Regions from separate parts of the Homo sapiens genome. Here regions 1 and 2 are each linked to region 3. The links are contacts of gene promoters, found by promoter capture Hi-C in human tissues and cell types (Jung and others, 2019). All regions are on one chromosome and are shown on one strand. The core of a region is centred on a gene start or on the middle of the fragment in contact, and the rest is flanking DNA. Distances in the headings are between cores, read along the strand shown.

Region 1 (4,075 bases), core at 652-3,151, 530 kb before region 3:
AGGAGGACTGATCACTTGATGAGAACCTTTGTGGAGATGCCAGTTTAGATTTGTTCAATGGACTTACCAAAGTAAGAGTACCCAGATAATCACCCACTCTAAAGGTCCGATAAAATGAAACCTAAATATTTTGTTTAATATTCAATAATGTCATTCGGGATTTATAATCTCCTATTTTCAGCGCCGGGCGCAGTAGGTCATGCCTGTAATCCCAGCACTTTGGGAGGCCAAGGCAGACAGATCACTTGAAGTCAGGAGTTTGAGACCAGCCTGGCCAATGTGGTGAAACCCCGTCTCCACTAAAAGCGATTACAGGCGCATACCACCACACCTTAGCCAGGCTGTAATCCCACTACTTGGGAGGCTGAGGCAGGAGAATCACTTTTAAACTGGGAGATGGAGGTTGCCGTGAGCTGAGATCGTGCCACTGCACTCCAGAGCAGAGCCTGGGTGACAGAGCCAGACTCTGTCTCAAAAAAAAAAAAAAAAAAATACACACACACACACACACACATATATACATACATATATGTATGTATTTTTTTTCCTATTTTCAACTGCCATACAGAGATACAACACTATCCTGTTGTCAGACACTTTGGGATGGTACAGCTACCAACCTTAGAAGCTTTTGGATTTGATTCTTTTAAAATATATCCTCCTTGAAAACAAGTTTCACTCTGATACACTTGCTGCAAAGATCTATATCTATAATAGCTGTCCTACAAAATTCTGTCACTTCCTCCTAATACAAGCTTTTGTTTATGAATAGTACCACTAATCCTTTAAGACCACTGTCAGCTCTCATGAACACACAAGTGTGTTAACATCAGACTTGGTATTGTTTTTCAACAGAAATATCTGGAACACTTTGTAAAACTGGGATCGTCAAAATCAAGCTCTATCAAATCATACTCCCATAAGGTCTGTGTCCTGGCAAATAATACATATATCAATATAAAATAGAAATTAAAATATCAATTTAAAATAGAAATTAAGAAACAATTTTCGTTGTCGTATGTTTCACCTAACACTATCAGGCCATGCTAATGTGGCAACAAATTCCATCAACACATCTATCTGCAGCCTAGAAGGATCTCAAGTCAAAAAGCAGACAGCAGTCCTTCTTGGATCCCATTTTATCGCAGGTGGGCTTCCACGTGAGACCAAAACAGTAAATGACAGCGAGACTAAACACATGCTTGCTGTCAGGGCATAAAACTGATCCTAAAAGGAAGGCTCATCAAATATAAGGTCATGAGGCATGGTCACTCAATTTTAGAAGTGTCTTCTAAACCCAAGGAAACATGAAGCAGAGTGCCCCAAGAGTTATCTGTGGTGAACTCATCACCTGCCTTAAGAATTATCAACACCCTGACGTATGCATTGAACTGGTTTGCTTACGACTCACGATTAATCTTATCTTCTTGGCATCTGCCTATTTGTTATCTACTCTTTATATTTTATCCTTCCATGCTCCATAAGGGATTCGCGGGAAGGAGGGAGATCCACCCGCCCGGGGCACGTTCTAGAGAAAGTTAAGTCAAAAGATAATGCAATGATAGCGCTCCGGCCTCTTCCAGGAGGGGCTTGGCAAAGATGGGGACAGAAATGTACAAAGAGACATCAGAAGCTGGGGCACTGTAAGGGGTTCCAAATCAGACAGGGTCGAAGTTCAAGAAGGAGAAGGTCCCTGGTTAGCAAAGCATAGGAGAAGGAATTTGGAGAAGATAAGAGTGAACAGGCTTGAAGTGGCATTGGACCAGCAGAAAATATCACAACGCAAAGTCAACGACCCCGTCCCCTGAAGCTATTGCCTGTCTTACCAGAGCCTGAAGTGCCAGCAGCGACGACACGACAGAATCTCAGCGGCCGAAGGGTTCCCACTTCCGACTCAGCACAGCAACCGGAAGTTACGTCATCAACAAGCGCCGGGGCATGTGGAAGTTCATCTCCGCGCCGGAAGCACGGTGTGCAGGCTCACCGGGGGGAACGGCGCGCAAATAGTCCTACAGCGCATGCGCTAGCTTGTTAGGGGCGGGCTGGAGGCGGGCAGGAAGTGGCAAGAAGTGGCCTTGGCATCGGATTGTGGGGGCTGGAGTTGGCCCACCTGGCAGTGCGCTTTGGAGTATAGAATATGAGGCTGGGTTTTGGAAATCAGCGTACCGAGGGCAGATAAAACTCTGTGATCCCTGGCTCTGCTCGCAACCTCTGTTGGGGGTCTGCTCTCTTATTTTCCCACCAGTCCTAGACCTTTTTGAAGCAGCTTCTGTTACTCTCTATTATTCAAAGGGATAACACTAACAGCAATAACAACTACAAGTTTGTTATTGTTGTGCTGTCTTTGGAGCAATCTTTGGAGTGTGCTATCTTTGATTGGATTTCAGTTTTCTTATCTGTAAAGTGGAGACAGTATACATCCTACAAGGTTGTTTTGAGATACACATAGATGGCCAGGCACAGTGGCTCACGCCTTGTAGTCCCAGCACTTTGGGAGGCTGAGACGGGCGGGTCACGAGGGCAAGAGATCGGGATACACATAAATAATAGAAGCAGCATAATTTTCAAGAGTTAAAAGCGCTGTGCAAGTGAAAATTCACAGATTGAGAGAAAATAGTTGCAACTCATATATCTGATAAAGGATTCATCTCTAGAATATGTAAAGAACTACAAGAACGAAAAACCCCCAAACAGTTCAGTTCAAAAAAGGGCAAAGGACTTGAATAGACATTTCTCCAAAGAAGATACATTCCAAGAGAATGACTATCCACTTGGTATCTGTGGGGGATTTGTTTCAGGACCCCCTTGGGTACCAAAATCCAAGGATGCTCAAGTTCCTTACATAAAATGATGCAGTATTTGCATATAACCTATGCACATCCTCCTGTGTCATCCTAGAGATGACTAAGTCATCTCTAGATCACTTATAATACCTAATACAACATAAATCTAAATAGTGTTGTATTGTTTAGGGAATAATGACAAAAAGTCTGTACATGTTCAATACAGATGAAATTTGTTTTGGAATATTTCCAATTCATGGTTGGTTGAAGCCACAGATGCAGAGCCCACAGATATGGAAGGCCAACTGTACAAATGGTGGATAAGCATATGAAAGAGTGCTCAACACCACTAGTCTTTAGGGAAATGAAAAAAAAAATCATGAGATACCACTTAATACCTACTAGGATGGCTACTATAAAAAAAAAGGAAAGTAATTGTTGGCAGATGTGGAGAAATTGAAACCGTATGCGTTGCTGATGGCAATGTTAAATAGTCCAGACTTTTTGGAAAAACAGTTTGATGATTCCTCAAAAAGTTAAACATAGTATAACCACATGATCAAGCAATTCCGCTTTGATATAGATGTTCAAAATAACTGAAAGCAGGAACTCAGATACTTGTATACATATATTTACAGTAGCACTATTCATAATAACCAAAAGGTAGAAATAACCCAGAATGTTCATTAACAGATGAATGCATAAACAAAATATGGTATATAGCTACAGATGACTTATTCAGCCTTGAAAAAGAATGAAGTTCTGATACACGCTGAAACATTGATGAACCTTGAAAACGTTATGCTAACTGAAACGAGCCAGACAGAAAGGACTAAATAGTGTATGATTCAGTTTATATGTGGTACACAGAATAGGCACATTCCTTGAGAGAGAAAGTATAATAGAGGTCACCAGGGATTGGAGGGAGAGGCGAATGGGAGTTATTGTCTAATGGGTACCAAGTTTCTGTTTAGGAGGATGAAAAATTTCTGAAATGGGTAGTGATGATGGCTACACATTGTGGATATATTTAATGCCATTGAATGGTACACTTAAAAATAGTTAAAATGGGGTTGGGTGCAGTGGCTCATGCCTGTAATTCCAGCACTATGGGAAGCCGAGGTGGACAGATCACTTGAAGTCAGGAGTTCAAGACCAGCCTGGTCAACATGGTGAAACCCTGTCTCTACTAAGAATACAAAAATTAGCTGATCATGTGGATGTGCGCCTGTAATCTCAGCTACTTGGGAGGCTGAGGCAGGAGAATCGCTTGAACTTGGGAGGCAGAGGTT
Region 2 (4,200 bases), core at 220-2,719, 580 kb after region 3:
CTCATAATTTCTGGAAAATTATCATTATAGACAACTGACCCACCTTCTAATCATTCAGTATCACTAGATTCTCAACAGAACAACTGATTGGTCTACAAGCCCTCTCTCAAACACAATTCCTCATGTTGAGCTTCACAATTATTATCTTGGAGACTCAGAAAATGATTCAGCACATGAGCTTGCTAACTCAGCAGTCTGACGCATTAGCAAAAGCCAAAATTTTTTTGATAAACAAAAAACATTTTGGTAGAATTTAAATAAAATCAACCGAGTATTCACAGCTATTATGATTTCCAAACAGGTCATTTTAAGAAACTTAGAAAATTGGCTGGGCGCGGTGGCTCATGCCTGTAATCCCAGCACTTTGGGAGGCCGAGGCAGGCGGATCATGAGGTCAGGAGATCGAGACCATCCTGGCTAACACGGTGAAACCCCGTCTCTCCTAAAAATACAAAAATGTTAGCCAGGCATGGTGGCGGGCGCCTGTAGTCCCAGCTACTCAGGAGGCTGAGGCAGGAGAATGGCGTGAACCCGGGAGGTGGAGCTTGCAGTGAGCTGAGATCGTGCCACTGCACTCCAGCCTGGGGAACAGAGCAAGACTCCGTCTCAAAAAAAGAAAAAAAAGAAACTTAGAAAATTGAGAAGCTGACCAAATTCTATGCCCACTTTGCTTTTTCTGCAGTACCCAGAAAAGGACACAAATCCTCTAAATAATTCTTTCACAAACAGCTTACAATGTTACTGTTTGAAATTTACTTTGGATGCTGAATAACACAAATGTAATCATTCAAAATATGCTCATGGTCTGAACTTTGTTTTTTTTTGTTTTGTTTTTTTTTTTTTTTGAGACAGGGTCTCACTCTGTTGCCAGGCTGAAGTCCAGTGGCACGATCTCAGCTCACTGCAACCTCCGCCTCCTGCCTCCTGGATTCAAGCGATTCCCCTGCCTCAGCTTCCCGAGTAGCTGAGACTACAGGTGCACGCCGCCACGCCTGGCTAATTTTGTGTATTTTAGTAGAGATGGGGTTTCACCATATTGGCCAGGATGGTCTCGATCTCCTGACCTCGTGATCCACCTGCCTCGGCCTCCCAAGGTGCTGGGATTACAGGCGTGAGCCACTGTGCCTGTCCCATGGTCTGAACTTGTAAATATCAGGTTATAAAGTGAGATCGGTGTTAGATTCATATAAAAAAAATTTTTTTTTAAGAGACAAGGTCTTGCTCTGTCACCCAAGCTGGAGTGCAGTGGCGTAATCACAGCTGACTGCAGCCTGGAACTCCTGGGCTCAAGTGATTCTTCCACCTCAGCCTCCCAAGTAGCTAGGACTACAGCCACGTGCCACCACAACCAGCTAATTTTTTTTTAATATTTTTTGTAGAGAGGGGGTCTTGCTAGGTTGCTCAGGCTGGTCTCAAACTCCTGGCCTCAAGCAATCTTCCCACCTTGGTGTCCCAAAGCGCTGGGATTATAGGTGTGAGCCGCTACGTCCAGCCCGTATCGAACTCTTGACCACACTTGGGACTCAACAATTAACTGTTATTATTTCAAAGTATTTAATAAATCTCTGAACTTTTTTCTATTAAGTCTAATGTTTGATACTGAAAAAGCTAAAGTCATTGGAGAGTTTTTACTTGTACACTTGTTTTTCAAATAAAAATTAAACCGAAGGGAAAGAAACTACAAATACAAACGGGTCTGGCCCCTCATGCATATATACATACACACAGGGTTTTTATTCTTAACATCAGTTACCTTCTGCCCTTCTCACAAAGCTTCTCAATTTCAGCTTTCAGATCCTGCTCCTTCTGCAAAAACTCCTTCTTCTCTTTCTCTATCTTCTTCTTTGTTTCTTCCCGCTTTATTGTCACATCCTGAATAGCCTTTAATATCTCCTGAGTTCCACACAATTACAGTCGCACACAAATAAAAAAGAAAATAAGTTAGTTCTTTTGATGCAAAGGTTATTTTCAACTATCACAAATTCACGTATTGACTTTAGTGAATTCAAATTGAATTGAAAGAATGTGGTTGATGAGTAGCTCCAAAAGCCAGTATTCAGACCTAAAGGAGAAAGTTATAGTAATGCAGATTTCAACTCAACAGGAAAAATAATTTCTAGCAATCGCAATTGTTCAAAAATGAAATATACTGCCTTGTGAAGCAGTAAGCTCTTCATTACTGGTGTTCAAATAAAGGCTGAATGAACACCTGTCAAGAATGCTGAGAAAGGTGTTCTTGTACCAGGGAGGGTCTGTTACATCCAACAAATATTGTCTTGTTTCATTTTGTTGTGATTCTACTTTATTATGTATGGGTTTTGTTTGTTTTACTCTTTAACAACAACAAATACATACATATATACACACACACATATACACACAGATATACATATGTACAAACGCACACTTTTTTTTTTTTTTAAATAAGAAGTCAAACAGGCCAGGCACAGTAGCTCATGCCTATAATCCTTGTACTTTGGGAACCCAAGGCAGGAGGATCACTGTGTCCGGGAGTTCGAGTCCAGCCTAGGCAACATACAGAGATCTTGTCTCACAAAAAATAAAAAAAATTAGCCAGGTGTGGTGGCACATGCCTGTAGTCCAGATACTCGAGAGGCTGAGGTGGAAGGATAGCTCGAGCCCAGAAAGTCAAAGATACGGTGAGCCTTGATTGTACCCACTACACTCCAGTCTGGGCAACAAAACAAGATCCAGTATCAAAAAAAAAGTAAAATAATACAAAGGTGATAAAGAGTCACTCCCCCACTTCATACCACTTCCACCCATAAGAGTAATCAATGTGTTAACTGCTTTGTATTATGCTTTCACATCTTTCTCTATGCTCACACAAAGACATGTATACTTAGGTATGCATTTCTTTGTTGTTGTTGTTGTTGTTATTTTTAAATGGGGTCATTTTACATACATTATTTTGCATTCTGATTTCTTTTACTTGACATGAATGTATTGTCAATAAGTATCGATCTAATTCAAAAATAGCTGCATAACATATGGATGTATCTAATTTATCCGAACATTCTTTATTAAAAGTCTATGAGTGGTCTGGCGCAGTGGCTCACGCCTGTAATCCCAGCACTTTGGGGGGCCGAGGCAGGTGGATCATGAGGTCAGGAGATCGAGACCATCCTGGCTAACATGGTGAAACCCCGTCTCTATTAAAAAAAATACAAAAAATTAGCCGGGCGTAGTGGCGGGCGCCTGTAGTCCCAGCTACTTGGGAGGCTGAGGCAGGAGAATGGCGTGAATCCAGGAGGCGGAGCTTGCAGTGAGCCGAGATTGTGCCATTGCACTCCAGCCTGGGTGACAGAGCGAGACTCCGTCTCAAAAAAAAAAAAAAGTCTATGAGTATTAATACTTTTTTTGAGACAGGGTATCGTTCTGTCACTCAGGCTGGAGTGCAGTGGCACAATTTCGGCTCACTGCAACCTCTGCCTCCTGGGTTTAAGCGATCCTCCCACCTCAGCCTCCCATGTAGCTGGGACCACAGGTGCACACCACCACGCCCGGCTCATTTTTTGTATTTTTGGTAAAGATGGGATTTTGCCATGTTGCCCAGGCTGGTTCGAACTCCTGGACCCAACTGATCCACCCGCCTCAACCTCTCAAAGTGTTGGGATTACAGGTGTGAGCCACCACACCCCGCCTTGCCTTTTTATTTCAATTAACTCAAAAATAAAATTAAAGTTTGAGCCGGGCATGGATGGCTCAAACTTTAATTTTATTTTTGAGTTAACTGAAATAAAAAGGCCTCCTTTCGGAGGCCAAGGCGGGTGGATTTCTTGAGTCTGGAGTTCAAGACCAGCCTGGGCAACATGACAAAACCCCGTCTCTACCAAAAATACAAAAAATGAGCCAGGCATAGTGGCACACACCTGTGTTCCCAGCTACTTGGGAGGCTGAGGTGGGAAGATCACTTAAGCCCAGGAGACAGAGGCTGCAGTGAGCCAAGATTATGCTACCACATTCCAGCCTGAGTGACAGAGTGAGACTCTGTCTCAAAAATAAATAAATAAATAAATAAAGTTTTTTAAAAAATTAAAGTTTGATCAGAGACTGTTGCTTAACTCATTGACAATTTCAATATAAGCAAAATACCTGGTGATTCTTCATTTCCTCTTCTCTCCTTTGCTGAAGCTGCTTTAATTGCACTTGGAGCTGATTCTCCACTTGCCTCTGTTT
Region 3 (4,199 bases), core at 517-3,016:
TTTTTCTGGTGTACCCAGTGCCCTGGCCACGTCCAGGGGCTATTGTGGAAAGCAAATGAGCAGCCTCAAGTTTCTTTATCTGTAAAACGCCATTAGTAGGAATTAAGTGATGCAGTGCATTCCAAGAGCCTGGCACGTGGTCCATCTTCACCAAACGCTGGCTCTGCTGTGATGTTTGCACGAATATATATTTCTTGGCTCCAGAAGCAGAAGGGAGCTGAACGGGTATTGCAGCGCCTGATCTGCAGGGCCATGCCATTCTCTCCGTCTCACTCATTCGTGCCCATTTTCATTGGAGGGTGGCTGGCTTTTCCATGTCCAACAGCAAACATTTGCCAAAGGCTAATGCTTGTCATTTCTTCAATCAACACACATATAACAGTAAAAATGATGCCACTCACCGTGTGCCAGGCCCTGGGATATGCTCTTTGCATGCATTATCTCACTTCCCCTCACCACCACCCTAGGAGCTGGGTACTGCGCCCATTTTACAGATGAGGAGACTGAGGCACAGAGAGGTGAAGTCATTGACTGAGACCACACCATTAGCAAGTGAGAGGGCCAGGGTGTGAACTCAAGTGCCAAGCCCTGCCCCTGCTTGGGGAGGATTCATGGATACAGTGGCTCCCTTCAGAAGGGCTCAAGCTCCCCTGCTGTCCGCTGGCCACTGACCTTGGCTGTTTTGTGGCCATTGGGCTTCAGCCTTTTCTGGAGGCCAATTCAATGGACTAGAACTCAACGAGGATTCTACAGTACCTGTGACTACCCGGCACAGGAGTCCTGGGGCGAAGGAGGTCACAGCGGAGTGGGGAGGCTGCCTGCGAGGTGTGGAAAGCATCTGCCTCCTGCAGCAGGAGGCCTGATTGTCAGTCTCCACTTCCCCCACACTGGCTGTGTGACCCTGGGCAAGGCCCCTACCTCTCTGTGCCTTAGACACCTGCCTCATCAGTAAAATGGGAAACATAAAGCTTGAGGAGAAAAAACAGTGAGGAAAGTGCTTGGTAAACCATAAACGCAGGGGGTTTTCCCCACGATGAAAGTCTTGCCCTGTCCTTAAGGATCCTGCATGCTCCATGGTAAACTGGCAAGGACACAATCCGAGAGCCAGGCCAAATGGTGGTAGGAGGAAGTGCCAGGGCGGCAGGGAAGGAGAAATTAGTTGGGGATGACTGAAGCCCTTCTGAATGAGGTGTAACCTGCAGGGTGCACGTTGATGGGTGAATAGGATGACAGATGAAGGGCCCTTCTGGAGGATCTACTGCTGGTCAGCTTTGGCGGTGCTCCAGGGATGTGGTGGGGGAGCAGTGGGCCAGGCTCCTAGGGACCACTGCAGGAAAGCCTCCAGTACCACATAAGGAACACCAGCTGCAGCGGCGGCATCCATGGTGGCTGGTGCGGTGGGCCCTGCCTGGGCTGGGGGCCACTGTGGGCCACTGCCCCCAGAAACTCCCAAGTACAGTGTACACTGAAGAGATTGTGCAACTTCCACTTTCCTGTTCCCACCGCCCCAGCTGTAGCTTCCCCAGCTGGCAGAACAGCACGACTGCTGACCCATCCCAACCCTTCTCTTTGGAAATTTCCTTTGGGAAGGTTTGGAAACTCAGCCAGCTCCTCCCTGCCCCTGCCTCCCCACGCACGTCCTCACCCTGCAGAAGGAGCCCCTCCATCCACACTGCAGCTTTTCTTGTGACCAGGGTAAATATTACCTGGCACTGTTAATGTTTAATGCCCGCACCTCGTCCCCGGCCACCCCGTGGAGGCAGCCAGACACTCTCCAAAAAGCAGAGACAGCAGGAAGAGGGGAGTGGAGGCAGCCCATTCACCTGGGGAAATGACTGGGTTGTCGATGGACGGTGGTGAGTGTGCTGGTGTGCGTGCCCGGGCGTGTGCAATGCTGGGTGGCTCTGATTGGCCTGCCTTTGTGGGGTCAGCTGGACCCTACTCTTCCCTCTCCTGCCACCTCAGCCTTCCAGAGTACCCAGCCCCTCTTCCTGTCGGCCTCCTCTCTAAGAAAATTTGCAACTTAAAGGAGGACCCTGCTTTAACCCCAAAGAAAGATAGCTTGAGTGGCAGAAAGGCAGCAGATAGAAGCTGGAGAGCTGAGCGTTCCTCCTCGGCCTCCTGGCACACACCCGCCCTGAGTTCAATGCATCTTGCTAGACCGTCTGAACTTGGGCGGGAGGCAGACGGCGTCCATCTGGCTGGGGAAGGAGCAGGCCCCTCTGGTCAGCCTTCCTAGGCTGGATTTGGGGTGAGAGCCCGCCAAGTTCAAGTCACACTCTCCAAAGGCTTCCTGTCACAGGAACTGACTCAGGCCTGGAAACCAAGAGGGGCACTTGCTGACAGAGGTGGGTTTTGAGCCAGATGCAGAAAGGGGAGGGTGCTGGGCAGGGAGGGTCTCAGCAAGCGGCTCAGGGCCAGGTGGCCACGGAGGAGGAGGTTTCCTGGGGCGTGTGGGGAAGCCTCAGCTGGCGTCTAGCTGTTGCTCTGACACTTAAATCCCCATATGACCTTAAACAAGGCCTGAACCAAATCTGGGAAGACAGCCCTGACGGCCTTCTGTGTGGGACCTGGGTCCTTCATGGCCTCCCTGAGCACCCAGCACCTCAGGCCCGTCAGGATGGGCACTGACTCTTCCTGGCCTGTCCTTTCCTGGCCCAGGGACTGGCCGCTGGGGACAGCTGGGCTTGACAGACCCTAAGTCTCACTGCTGCTCAGGGGCACAGTTTGGCACAGCCCGGAAAGTGCTAACTTGCGCGTTCCTTCCTCCTCGGGCTCCACTTCCCTCGTGCGAGAAGGGGCTCCGGCAGGGCAGGAAAGAGTAGCGGCCCTTAGCTGTGGCAGAAGCGTCCTGGCCAGGCCACCGTCTGGCTGTCCGGGGCAAGTGTACTCAGTTGCAGGGCACCACTGTGAGACCTGCCTGCTGAGCGGCTCCAAATCCGGGGGAGGCCACCAGAGGCAGGGGCAGGACCTTACCTCTAACGGGCTCCTTCCCTCCCGCCATTGAGAGGTGGCAGATCAAAGGGCTTATGCACCTCCATTCTCAGCCCCCTGCTTCCTGGGTTCAAACACCAGCTCTACCCCTGACTTGCTGTATAACTGTGGGGGAATTTCTTCTCTGCACTTCCACCCTCTTGTGGATTACACCAGAATGACATTGACGCCTCATAAGGTTGCCATAATGGTTAGATGAGTTAGGGTTTGTTAGTTTTTGCCCGGTGCCTGACCAGCACTATATATTAATGTTTCTTAACTAGATCTGCTTCCCCTGAGGATGGTAACGCAGGAAAGGAGGTCTGTCTCAGCTTTCATTAGGACTTTGAACAAGTCTACACATTGGGCTCGGCTTCCTCCTTCTGTCTGATAAACTTTAAGGTTCTGTTTTATTTATTCATGCATTTCCCAAATAGCTGCTAAGCACCTGATAGCCAAATGGTCCTGTGGAGAGAGGCCGCTGGGAGTCTAATGGGAGAGGCTTCTCCTGGCCTTTTCTACCATGGTAGGAATCAAGGAGCAGGAGAGAGCCACCCTTCCGGAGTGGTCAGAGGCCCCCCAGACAGCACGGATCCCCCTCGGACACTCGGTATTTGGTCCCCAGTTGAGCGTGTCTGAAGCCGCCTGGAGCAGAAGCCTGCTGGCAATGGTTTTAGCAACACCCCTGCTCCCAGCCTCCCCTCGCCTGCTTGGACCCTCGAGGGTCCTCTGGGAAGGGAAGGACAGGGAATTCCAGCTGTTCCTGTGGCTGGCTCACCATCGGTGACTCCTCTCATCCCACCTCTGGCTCTCTCCTAGGCGGCAGCCCCAAGGGGGACGTGGACCCGTTCTACTATGGTAAGCCTGGGCCCCTGCGCACCCTTCCTGAGCCCTCAGGACCCCTTCCACCAAGCAGCGGCCTCTCCCAGCCCCAGGTCCATGCTCTGTGCCCCTTATCTCCCCTGGTTACCACGGGCTGCTGCGGGCAGGCTGCGGAGAGAGACAGCTGCTGGGAGAGACCACCCATCCCGCTCCTCTTGCCCTCTCTTTCCGGAGACTATGAGACCGTTCGCAATGGGGGCCTGATCTTCGCTGGACTGGCCTTCATCGTGGGGCTCCTCATCCTCCTCAGTAAGTGGGGTGGCCTCCAGGGAAGGGGTGCTGACCAGGGCACCTCTCTTCTCAAGGCCGCTGAGCAGGCTGGCTTTCGGGAGTTGCCAAGGGAG

The links. Contacts are between HindIII fragments. The study calls those that stand out against the background at their distance.
Region 1: the fragment with the promoter of UBE4A here is called in contact with the fragment with the promoter of FXYD2 in region 3 in 1 of the 25 tissues and cell types used here (psoas muscle).
Region 2: a fragment that was not itself captured here is called in contact with the fragment with the promoter of FXYD2 in region 3 in 1 of the 25 tissues and cell types used here (dorsolateral prefrontal cortex).

Annotation. Positions count from the first base shown.
Region 1 is chr11:118,357,426-118,361,500 of GRCh38, reverse strand. It overlaps UBE4A (ubiquitination factor E4A), which reads right to left and starts at 1,901. Exons shown (of 20, transcript NM_001204077.2): 1 at 1,827-1,901. RefSeq lists an enhancer at 1,895-1,964. The HindIII fragment of the contact is 8,022 bases long and covers 1-4,075 here.
Region 2 is chr11:117,244,502-117,248,701 of GRCh38, reverse strand. RNF214 (ring finger protein 214) reads right to left here. Exons shown (of 15, transcript NM_207343.4): 5 at 4,117-4,200; 6 at 1,754-1,893. Among named protein-coding and RNA genes, the nearest start is that of RNF214, 14 kb to the right of the region's middle. The HindIII fragment of the contact is 8,572 bases long and covers 1-4,200 here.
Region 3 is chr11:117,822,311-117,826,509 of GRCh38, reverse strand. It overlaps FXYD2 (FXYD domain containing ion transport regulator 2), which reads left to right and starts at 1,766. Exons shown (of 6, transcript NM_001680.5): 1 at 1,766-1,856; 2 at 3,793-3,831; 3 at 4,030-4,104. The coding sequence starts at 1,832. FXYD6-FXYD2 (FXYD6-FXYD2 readthrough) reads left to right here. Exons shown (of 10, transcript NM_001243598.4): 7 at 3,793-3,831. RefSeq lists enhancers at 920-1,472, 1,473-2,026, 3,689-4,199. The HindIII fragment of the contact is 16,763 bases long and covers 1-4,120 here.